Linked DNA regions of Homo sapiens: region 2 is linked to region 1. Evidence: promoter capture Hi-C in human tissues and cell types (Jung and others, 2019). All regions are on one chromosome and are shown on one strand. The core of a region is centred on a gene start or on the middle of the fragment in contact, and the rest is flanking DNA. Distances in the headings are between cores, read along the strand shown. Region 1 holds the start of SH3BP1 (SH3 domain binding protein 1). Region 2 holds the start of MICALL1 (MICAL like 1).

Region 1 (4,133 bases), core at 1-2,500:
CAATGAGTCCTGCCTCATTAGGGAGGAGAGAAGCAGCCAGTGAGTGTGCCAGGCCCTGGGCTAGGTGCTGGGAGTATGGAGATGTGTGGGGCCAAGGTCCTGCCTCTGAGAGGCGCCCAGTCTGCACCGGCACACAGTCTGCACCGGCACACAGTAGTGGCTCAAATAGTCTCAAACTAAACTGAAACTAACAAAGCAAAGTGCAGAGGGTGTGGCAGGACTCTGGGGCACACCCTCCCCTCTTCCCCACGCCTGCGGCTCCTGATGCCACAGGGGTGCAGGGTAAGGAGAGCCTACTGTTTCCTAAAGGCGCTCACATCTTGTAAAACCAGCAGTTATGGAGCACTTACTGTATGCCTAACTCTGTGTTGAGTGGAGGGCCAAAGAGGAGAACTACTGAGTTTGGGGGCAGTCAGAGCAGCACCTACATCATTGCCCTACAAGAAGGAAGGGGGACTGAGGCTGTTTGCCAGGAGGAATGAGAGGAGACGGGCTTCACAGATGGAGCAAACTGCCAGGAGATGTGGAGAACAGGGTGTCGCGAACCGCTCTGGGAGGGTTCCTGGTGGCTGAGGGGTGGCACGCACCTCCCTTAAAGGGAGCTGGCAGGGGTGTCTTGTCCACTCTGCAGAATGGGCAGGCCCAGGACAGCTGGCCCATCAGACCATTAGAAACAGCGAGTCCGGAGTTCCAGGGGCTTGTCCACGGCCACACAGCAGCCCGTGGCCCCAGGAAGCCAAAGCTCCCAGCCAGTCATCCAGTGGTGGGGGGTTTAGTTCCAGGGGGCCAGAGGTCCTCTGCGGAAGAGAGTGCAAGGCAGTATCCGCGGCAGGCCCAGAGAGGCCAGGACAGGTCAGAAAGGCCTACCCCTCTTTCGCTTGGTACCCTTTCCTCTTTGCGAGGGATGCAAAGGTTATTTATACTTCGGGTCTGCAGGCTGCGGGTGGGGCAGGCACCCCGCCTGGGGCGGGTTGCGGGCGCAGGGGCAGGAATGGGCTTACCTGCTTCCCGCCACCGGGGCTGGGCGGGGCGCTGCGGGGAGGAGGAGCCGGGCACAACCTGTGGACGGCCGCGGCCGGCGGACACACAGCAGCGGGGGCCCGGCCGGGGGTCGCCCGGGGGCCCGGAAGCCGGGGAAGAGCGAGGAAACCAACTTGGAGAGAGGAGTGACCTGGGGGCCGGGGGCGGAGTCGTGAGCGGGGGAGGAGAGAGCCGGCCGCCAGCAAGAGCCGCGCGGCGGCCCAGGAAGCGAGAGCGCCGCCCACCCATCCGGGGCAAGAGCCGCGCCGCAGGAGAGGCAGGCTGGACCGGGGGCTCCCCGGGCCCGCGACCCCCGCCGTGACCCCGCAGCCCCCAGCTCGCCCCCAAGATGATGAAGAGGCAGCTGCACCGCATGCGGCAGCTGGCCCAGACGGGCAGCTTGGGACGGTGAGTGTCACCCGCTTCCAGCCCCACTCTTACCCCGGCAGGACTTGAGGGGTCGTAAAAGGGTCGGGGGAGACGGGGGTGGGGGAGGCTGGGGACAGCTGGGCAGCCACCCTCTGAGCGGCCAGACTCCTGCTCTCTCTTCCTCCTCTCTGAACGCCGCCCCCGTCTCTCGGGCAGAGCTGGAGGAGCAAGGGTGGCCTTTGGGGGAAGGGATGCCCCCCCTTACCGGATTGGAGGGGGCTTCAGGCGGGAGAATGCTCTCTGCCCTAGGACGCTGGGACTTCTCTGCCTCCACGAGTCTCTAAGTGGATGGTCCTCCTGACCTCACTTGTCCCCTCTGGACAATGGGACAGTTCACCACCTCTGCTTGCTGGGCCGGGGAGGGAGGAGGGTCGATTAGGGCCACAGACCTGGGGCGAGGGGAGGAGATGGGTCCTGGCCTGGTGGGAGGAGGGGCCTGCCCCTGGCCTGCAGCGTCCCTCCCCCTCCCCCTCCCCCCAGCCCAGGGGCCTCCTGCTTCTGTCTCGTTTCTGCTTTTCCTGGACTCAGGTGGAAATATCCCCAGGTCTCCCAGCTCCCACCCCCAGCCTCTGAGCCGGTGGCACGGAGGCCGGAAGTTTGGGGAGCCTCTCAGAGCCTGTCTTCTCTGCTCCTCTTCCCCCAGCCTCAGGAGTTCCCCATTCTCTGGGTCCAGGGAGGGGACTGGGTGTCCAGAGACCTGGTTCTAGTCTCACACTGGCACAGATGCCTACATAGCCTGGACAGTCAGACCACCTTGCAGTGGGCCTTGGCATCCCCCATGTGTCCCCAGGTGGGGGCCAAGGGCCTGTGCACCCCTGCCCACAGCTGTAGTCCAGAGTGCTGTGTGACTGTGCCTAGGAGTCTGAGCTCCTGCACTTCCCGTTCTTGGGGCCAGCTAATACTCCTCATCCCGGGGTGGGCTGAGGATTTGGGAGTGGGCAGAAAAGAGGCTTCTGTGTCCCAAAGCTGGGCCCCGGGTGGGTCTCTCAGCCTCCCCTTTAGTTTCATCTGTCCGCCCTCTCTCAGGACACAGCCCTGGGTGGAGGAGGAAAAACCCATGTATCCTATTCCCACCCCCATGGAATGTGCTCCGACTGGGATGAAGCAACTGGGCCACCCAGGGCAGGCCTCAGCTGGGAGGGACAGTGGAAGCACTGGGGTCCAGGTGCCCTGCTGCGGGGAAGGGAAGTAGGGGGCGTTCTAACCCAGGCAGGCTCAGCAGAAGCACTCTCCCCCCCCCCCCCACCACTCCCCGCAGCACCCCGGAGACCGCTGAGTTCCTGGGTGAGGACCTGCTGCAGGTACGTGCCTGGGCCGGGCAGGTGGGAAGGCAGGCCTGTGCAGGCTGTCTCGGAGCAGAGGGCCGGGGCGGGGACGCCAGGTAGGGGCCTGGGTTGAGTCATTCCTCAAGCTGTTGGCCATGGGGTCCCCAGGGGACAGGAGAAAGTTTCCTGCTCAGGGGGAGACAGCCTCTCTTGATCCTTAACCTCCATACCTCCTTCCCAGGTAGAACAGCGGCTGGAGCCGGCCAAGCGGGCAGCCCACAACATCCACAAGCGGCTGCAGGCCTGTCTGCAGGGCCAGAGCGGGGCAGACATGGACAAGCGGGTGGTGAGTGGGGGGTCCCGGGAAGGAGGGGCCTGAGCAGGAGACTTCCATCCAATGGGGAAGCAAGGTCGGGGCTGGGGTTTCCTTGCCAGTCTGAGTGTCTGGCACCAAGGGCATGGAGACTGCTCTGTTCCAAGGCCCCTCTGGCACTGCACTCAAGAGGCCCTATACCTTCCCCATCACCTTTACCCCACTTCCCTGTGCACCAGTTCCCATAAGCCAAGGCCAGGCTTCTGACAGCACCTGAACTTCTCTGTCCAATCAGTGCGCAAGAGCAGGCTGTCAATGGGGCGGCCTCAGAGGGTTTCCTGAAGGAGGTAGCAATTGAGCTGGCTTTTGAGGGATACACGTTTATTAATCAAGAGGCAGCGTTTATTGGCTGATAACCGCCAGCTTGTTACTAACATATGAGTGCACTGTCTCATGGAACACTGGCACAACCCTAGGGGCAGGCATTGCTTTACACATGAGGAACTGGAGGCTCAGAGATAAAGTCACTTGTCCAAGGTCACATAGCTAGTAAGTGGCAGAACTGAGGTTTGAACCCTGGTCTCTGATCCCAGAGCAGGCATTCCCCGTAACTCCAGATGGGGTGGGAGTGTGGGGCCATGTTTTGGAATCAGTTGACAATTCAGTGTGGCCAAGGCAAGGAAATTGGGAGCCATAGAGCGTTTGAACTCAGCGGTGGCTAGGTCAGCCATATATACCCTGGGACAGGGGAAAGAGCTCCCGCTCCCATTCTCCCTCCACCTGTGTGACCTGGGGCAAGCTCCCTGCCCTCCCTGCATCTTAGTTTCCCAGTCTGCAGTAGGACTTGGTCATTCCTTCCTGCCCAGTCAAGTGGCTTCTGGGAAGAGGAAAGGGCACGCCAGATGGAGAGGGGCTCCATCCATGCTCTCAGGGAAATGTCACCCCCACCACGCCTTGTCATCTTGTTTCCACTCTCATCTGGGACTGTGGCCCTCCTGGGTTCCCTCCTCCCCTGCCCCAAGGGGCTGGCCTGGTGCTCAGGCAGGGTGGAGGGAGGCACGGACACTCATCGCCGGCCCCACCCTCCCTGCAGAAGAAGCTTCCCC
Region 2 (6,956 bases), core at 1,542-4,041, 270 kb after region 1:
CCTCATTTTATAGGGTAAGAAATTGGGGTTCATGAGGGTGAGTTGTCTGGCCTGCGGTCACACACTGTGGTCGTACAGGTCCTTACTTCGAAACATTGTGAGCTGACTCAGATAATGAGTTTATAAAGCCCACAAATGGCTAATGGGGGTGACCAGGCTGTGCTGTGTAAGCTATTAGTATGGCAACAGGATCAGATATGGAGCTGTCTTCAGGGACCTAAAGGGAGCCCTTTAGGCTAGTGAGGACAGGGCTATAATCCCTCCTGGTTTCTTTTGTTTGTTTTTGGTTTTTTGTTTTTTAAATGGAATCTCACTCTGTTGCCCAGGCTGGAGTGCAGTGGTGCGATCTCAGCTCACTGCGTCCTCCACCTCCCGGGTTCAAGCCATTCTCCTGCTGGGATTACAGGTGTGTGCCACCACGCCCAGCTAATTTTTTGTATTTTTAGTAGAGATGAGGTTTCACCGTGTTAGCCAGGCTGGTCTCGATCTCCTGACCTCGTGATCTGCCTGCCTTGGCCTCCCAAAGTGCTGGGATTACAGGCGTGAGCCAAAAAAACCCACCATCTTTGAGATGGAGTCTCGCTGTGTCCCCCAGGTTGGAGTACAGTGGCGTGATCTTGGCTCACTGCAACCTCCGCCTCCCAGGTTCAAGCGATTGTCCTGCCTCAGCCTCTCGAGTAGCTGGGACTATAGGCACGTGCCACCACGCCTGGCTAATTTTTTTATTTTTAGTAGACACGGGCTTTCACCATCTTAGCCAGGCTGGTCTTGAACTCCTGACCTCATGATCCGCCCACCTTGGCCTCCCAAAGTGCTGGGATTACAGTGAGCCACCGCGCCTGGCCCAATTTTTTGTATTTTTAGTACAGACGGGGTTTCACTATGTTGGCCAGGCTGTTCTCAAGCTCTTGACCTCAGGTGATCCACCTGCCTCGGCCTCCCAAAATGCTGGGATTACAGGTATGAGCCATGGTGCCCAACCCCGCCCCCCTTAGGTTTTAATGAGAGTCCTGGGTGGTCTTTGAAGGCCTAGGTGGATGCTGGTGTCAGGATCCTGAACCCAAGTCCCTGATTTCATAAAAAGCATCCGGAATCCTGCTTTCCTGCCACTGTTATCCCACAGGGGACAGGGCAGGAGTTGGCAGCTCAGGGCTGGTGAGAAGTCCAGAGGGCTAGCCAGGCACTCTGGCCATGCTCTTCCTAGGTGGCCTGAGAGTCCATATACTGAGCCAAGATGGCGGCCTTCCAGTTGCAGGAGTGTTAGGCCAGCCCAGATTGGCAAGCTGGGTTCTCCAGGCCCTGGGCCAGTATTCTGGACTGGGACTCAGTGGACTTTGAAGAGGTAGAATTCCCTAAGTCGGCCTCTCTCCTTGATAATTTACCCAGAATGGCCCAGATGACAATCTGGGTACAAAATATTTCAGTCCATTTCATCATGTTTACCAAGTACCAGGAGTCAATAGAATTTATGAGTGATAACTAAAGGGTAAGGCACTTTACATCTTAATCCTCTCAGCCACCTTGTAAAGCAGGTATTATCTCCATTTTTAAGTCGTGGAAACTGAGGTCCAGGGAGGCACAAGATCACATGACTAAGGGAGTGGGGAAAGCCAGGATTGGAGATTGGGTTAATAGGGCTCCAAAATGCCTGATCTTTCCACTCCCCTGAGTGCTCAGGGGTGATGAAGATGACTAAGACCCTGTTCCTTCCCTTGGGAGGGAGCGAAATACCCACTCCAGCTAACTATTGCATGGGTCAGGGTGACATCACCACCTCTGCAGCAGATGGAGGCTGATTCATCTGTGGGAGAGTCAGGAGGGGCCTCTGCGGAAGGGTCGGCTGGCTGGAAGGGTTGGCTGGCTGGAAGGGTCGGTTGGCTGGCGGGGGTTTTGAAGACGGCAAAGATAGAGAATGAGCCTTGGGGAGGTTCCAGGGCCAGATACAAACTGCCTGTATGCCTCCCAGGCAGGGGCCTCCTTGGCCTAGGTCCTTCCCATAGGAACTCAAACCACCACCACACTAACCATGGCTGAGGGGACCCGGCAGGCCGCAGTGGGGAGGGACGAGATCCCTGAGCTTACACAGGGGCTGAGGGGAGCTCAGTGAATCACCTAGGGGACACCTGGACCAAAGGTGGCGGAGGGGCGCATGGGTCTCCCTGCCAAGCTATGGGGGAGGGGATGGTGGACATGACAACTTCCAGCTCAGCGGTGCTTTAGGGTGGGGAGCCGGGATGAGGGAAGCTGGTGGCTATCCGGGGGGGGGTGCTCTGAGGTCTGCAGGGGAACTGCCTCCCCAAAGTTTCAAGCTAGGGGTGGAAGGGGGGATTTGCGGTCATTAGGAGCGGGAAGGAGGCCGGATGGGAGCACGAGGTGTCCCGCCTCCAAAGGGTGGAGGGCTCCCGGTGGGTGGCGCGGCGGCGGCCGCGGCGGTGAAGTCATCGTGGGGAGTGGTCCGCTTGCGGCGGGTGCGGGGGCTTCGCGGGCACCCAGTGGAGCAGCGGGAGCCCGGCGCCGTCGAGGGGCGGGCGATGGGGCGCCGGCCCGTCTTGGTAGGGGTGGGCTCCGCACTGGAGGCGGAGCTGCTGCTGGGTGGGGCGCGCCTCCGGCGCGGACGGAGGCGGCGGGACGCCCGCTCCCACGACCGGCCCACAATGAGGCGAGCGGGCAGCGCGGAGTAGGCGGCGGCCGGCCGGGCCGGGCCACGCGGCGGCGCTGCTCGGGCAGGTTAGGGCAGGGCCGCGGGGCGCCCGAGCGAGGACACCGCGGCCCCGCCTCCGCCCCTCCCCTCGCCTGCCGGTCGGCGCCCGAGCTCGGAGCCGCAGCCGCAGCCGGAAACCGGGCCCGCGCGGCGGCCGCCGTCCCGGCCAAGCCGGGGCCCCGAAGCCAGAGCCGGAGCCGGGCGGGCCGCGGGGTCATGGCTGGGCCGCGGGGCGCGCTGCTGGCCTGGTGCCGCCGCCAGTGCGAGGGCTACCGCGGCGTGGAGATCCGCGACCTGAGCAGCTCCTTCCGGGACGGCCTGGCCTTCTGCGCCATCCTGCACCGGCACCGGCCCGACCTGCTGTGAGTGCGGGGCCCCGGGCGAGCGGGCGGCGCGGGGCGGGCTGGGGCCGCGACCGCCGCCCCCCCTCAGTAACACGAAGCCCGGGCGGTGACAGGCGCCGCCCCCGGACACGGAGACGCCGACCCCCCCGACGGCCCCGGACGCCGGGCGGGTCCCTGAGACCCCGGCCCAGGGCGCCCCTCCCCCGCCCGGCCGCCCTGACCCCGCCCGTGGGATCCCGAACTCTCCCCCGAGGCTGGTCCCTCCGCGGGGACACTGGCCCCGCCCACAAAGCGCTGATTTCCGCCGAGGATCGCTGAACCCCTAAGCCCTTGACCTCTTTGAAGGGGTGTTGAGCCCTCTTTGGGGGCCCTGGGCCTCTCCTACCCTAAACTCTTCTCCACGGGCTCGCCGGGCCTCCCCTCTCCCCCGAGGCTTCCCACTCGGGGTGGCCCCTTGCTCCGGGTGTGCAGGTGAACCCCCACTTCTCTGACCCCCAAATAGGAGCTTGTCTCCGGACAGTAGCACAGTTCCCGGCACAGAGGAGACCTCGGCTAACAGGTGTTGGATGAATGGATGTACAGACCCTGTGCTTTCCCCACGCCCCCCAACTTAGGACGCAGCCCTGCCTCCCGGGTGTGTGCTCGATGGCCCTGCAGCCCTCCTCAGTGGGGCACGCAGGTGGGGCGCGCAAGAGGAGTCACAGGCCGGCAATGTTGGGAAGACTCCTAGGATCCGATTGATAGACACCAACCGGGTGCTGCAGGTTGTGAAATGGCCCCTTCCTGCCCAGAGCTGCCCAATGAGGTTCTCATGGGAAAATGCATTCAGACTCCCCGGAACAGTTGACTTGGAGCCTCTGTCTTTGCTCTCTCTGCCTTGAGCCCTGGAACCTCTCCTCCTTTCGTCCCTTCATTCCTAAAACACTGGGTGAGTTTATCTGGTGCCATTCCTTGCACTTCAGGTCTCACCTGTGAATCAGGGAGGAGAGTTCTGGTCCCTACCCCTTTCGCATGCAGCCCTCTTGCCAGGGCTCCCCCAGCCTGGCAGATGGAGGCTTTCTGTGCCTGTTCCACCTCCAGATTTGCACTGTCCGAGGGCAGCATGTGGGAAGGCTTCTAAGGGATTGCCTCAGGATTCCATGATGCAGGTGCACCTGGTTTACCTGTATGTACCCTGCAGTACCGTGTCTGTGGGTGGTGGCTTGGGCCCTGGAGGAGAGGGTTTTGGGGCTGTGGATACAGAAGGGAACAAGATGAGGTGGTCATGTAGGTGGGCCCCTGCCCGCTGTGGGGCATGTGACACCCATACTAATGGAAGCACAAGGTTGATGCCTGGTTGCCCAGGAGCAGGGGGTAGAAGGATGGAGGAAAAGGGCACCAGGGTTAGACCTGGGCATTGGAAGGGAGGGCCCAAGGGGTCTTCTGTTTTGTTTGAGGGGCAGGAGTGAGGCAGGAAGCAGGGACAAACCCAGTGTGGGAGGGGACTTGGGTGTGAAGTGAAGCCATTTGGTGGGCCTGAGCCTGGTGGCATCAAAGTAAATAAAGGCCGCCTGGTTTGTGTTTAGCTTCTCCATGTCTTAGGCGCATGGCCTTGGGTCCTCATGGGCTCTCTCCAGGCATCAGTGTCCTCATCTGTGAGGTGGGATTGATAATGTGACACAGCTCACAGAAATGTGAGGATTGCATGAGATAACAAGCATTCATTTAACATTAGTTACTGTGAGTAACTAATGTTACTTTTTTTTTTTTTAATGTTTTTTATTTTTTTGAGATGGGGTCTCACTCTGTCACCCAGGCTGGAGTGCAGTGGCACAGTCATGGCTCACTGCAGCCCCCACCTCCCGGGCTCAAGCAATCCTCCCACCTCAACCTCCCTAGTAGCTGGGACCACAGGCACACGCCACCACGCCTGTCTAATTTGTTTGTATTTGTAGAGATGGGTTTTCACCATGTTGCCCAGGCTGGTCTTGAACTCTTGAGCTCAAGTAATCTGCCTACCTCAGCCTCCCAAAATGCTGGGATTACAGGCATGAGCCACCATGCCTGGCCCAATAACAATGTTTGATTTCTTCATTTATTCAACCAGTATTTGTAGAGTCATATTGCTCTGTGCTGGACACTGTACCTGGTAATGGAAGTACCAATCGACAAAACAGGCAACCCTACACGCTCTCCCACACCTGTAGGGGAAACGTGTATAAACGATGATGGCAATTCCATGTACCCTATCAGAGGGCTGGGGGTGGGAGACCTCCTAGGGAGAATATAGTCTTCAAGGAGATGGCAGGAGCCAGGTGAGGGCTGCTGGGTGGACGTTCTGGCATGGGACCCCATCTGAGCAAAGGCAAGGGGCGGGAGGTGTGTGCAAAGCTGGAGGCTGTGTAGCTGAGTGGGGAGCACAAGGTAGCGAGTTGGGAGATGCAGTTGGGACAGATGGCTGACAGCTGCTTTTGCTGGCTAAGGAGCATGGATAGGGGCCTCAGGGAACCATGCAGGGTTTTTTTTGTTTTTGTTTTTGTTTTTTTGAGATGGAGGCCTGTCACCCAGGCTGGAGTGCAGTGGCGTGATCTCGGCTCACCACAACCTCTGCCTCCCGGATTCAAGCGATTCTCCTGCCTCAGCCTCCCAAGTAGCTGGGATTACAGGCACGCACCACCATGCCTGGCTAATTTTTGTAGTTTTTAGTAGAGATGGGGTTTCACCATGTTGGCCAGGCTGGTCTCGAACTCCTGACCTCAGGTGATCCGCCTGCCTCGGCCTCCCAAAGTGCTGGGATTACAGGCGTGAGCCACCATGCCTGGCCGAGCCACGTAGGTTTTTTTTTTTGAGACGGAGTCTCGCTCTGTCAGCCAAGCTGGAGTGCAGTGGCATGATCTCTGCTCACTGCAAGCTCCACCTCTTGGGTTCACGCCATTCTCCTGCCTTAGCCTCCCGAGTAGCTGGGACTACAGGTGCCCGCCACCATGCCTGGCTAATTTGTTGTATTTTTAGCAGAGACGGGGTTTCACTGTGTTAGTCAGGATGGTCTCAATCTCCTGACCTCGTGATCCACCTGCCTTGGCCTCCCAAAGTGCTGGGATTATAGGTGTGAGCCACCGCGCCTGGCCAACCACGTAGGTTTTAAGCAAGGGAGGGATGTGGCTGGAAAAAATGTGCAGGGGAGGGTGGCTCCGCTTCTGAGATCCAGAATCATGTCCAGGCATTCATTTGCAATATTGCCAGCGCATTGCACAGGAGAGAAGCTGAGGCCCAGGTCCCACATAATGTGTAGGGAAGTCCTCAGTGATGGGTTGGGAGGATCTCCGTGAGAATAGGAGTGGCCTAGAGTGAGGGCAAGAATCATCTCCTAAATTGGTTCAGGCTTCTGGGGCTGTGGGCCCTGCCTGGGTGAACCCAGTGTTGGCCCAGGGCTCTGCTGGGACGAGGGTTGTGGGGGCTGGGCCATCCCTCCGCACCACCCGAAATCCAGACATGCTTAAGCTCCTTTGAGGGCGTGGACCATGTGGGTTTCATTTCTGTGTCCTTCATCTTCCCCAGAGCCAAGTAGAACTCCGCAGGCCTCTGAAGACTCTCAGAAAATATATGTGTTACCAAAACACAGATGTTAATTAGGGACAGAGATGGGGGTGGAAGAAAACCTGCAGGATCCTGAAGGTTTTTTACAGTTTTCACACTGTTTTCAACATTGATTCATTCAACAAACATTTACGGAGCATCTTCGAAATTTGGGGAACTGTGTAGGGAGTTGGGGGCACAGAGTAGCTAGAATGTGACCCCAGCCTTCTTGGAACACTTCTGGGGTGACCGAAATAAACGGCTGAGACAAGTTGCTTTTGTCTCATTTGGTCTTGGAAAAAGCCTCTGTTGGGGGCTGGGTACCATGGTGTTTTCCTCGCCCTGTTGCAGTGTCC

Evidence for each region. The method cuts DNA at HindIII sites, captures the fragments that hold promoters and counts their contacts. A contact is called where the count stands out against the background at its distance.
Region 2: the fragment with the promoter of MICALL1 here is called in contact with the fragment with the promoter of SH3BP1 in region 1 in 1 of the 25 tissues and cell types used here (lymphoblastoid cells).

The regions. Positions count from the first base shown.
Region 1 is chr22:37,638,419-37,642,551 of GRCh38, forward strand. SH3BP1 (SH3 domain binding protein 1) reads left to right here and starts at 1,251. Exons shown (of 18, transcript NM_018957.6): 1 at 1,251-1,428; 2 at 2,708-2,750; 3 at 2,956-3,060; 4 at 4,121-4,133. The coding sequence starts at 1,370. It overlaps PDXP-DT (PDXP divergent transcript), which reads right to left. Exons shown (of 6, transcript NR_109952.1): 6 at 3,414-4,133. RefSeq lists silencers at 1-218, 849-998, 1,029-1,468. The HindIII fragment of the contact is 22,988 bases long and covers 1-4,133 here.
Region 2 is chr22:37,903,506-37,910,461 of GRCh38, forward strand. MICALL1 (MICAL like 1) reads left to right here and starts at 2,792. Exons shown (of 16, transcript NM_033386.4): 1 at 2,792-3,063. The coding sequence starts at 2,918. RefSeq lists enhancers at 1,483-2,298, 2,299-3,114, 3,115-3,930, 3,931-4,744, 6,734-6,956 and silencers at 2,405-3,124, 3,235-3,344. The HindIII fragment of the contact is 31,369 bases long and covers 1-6,956 here.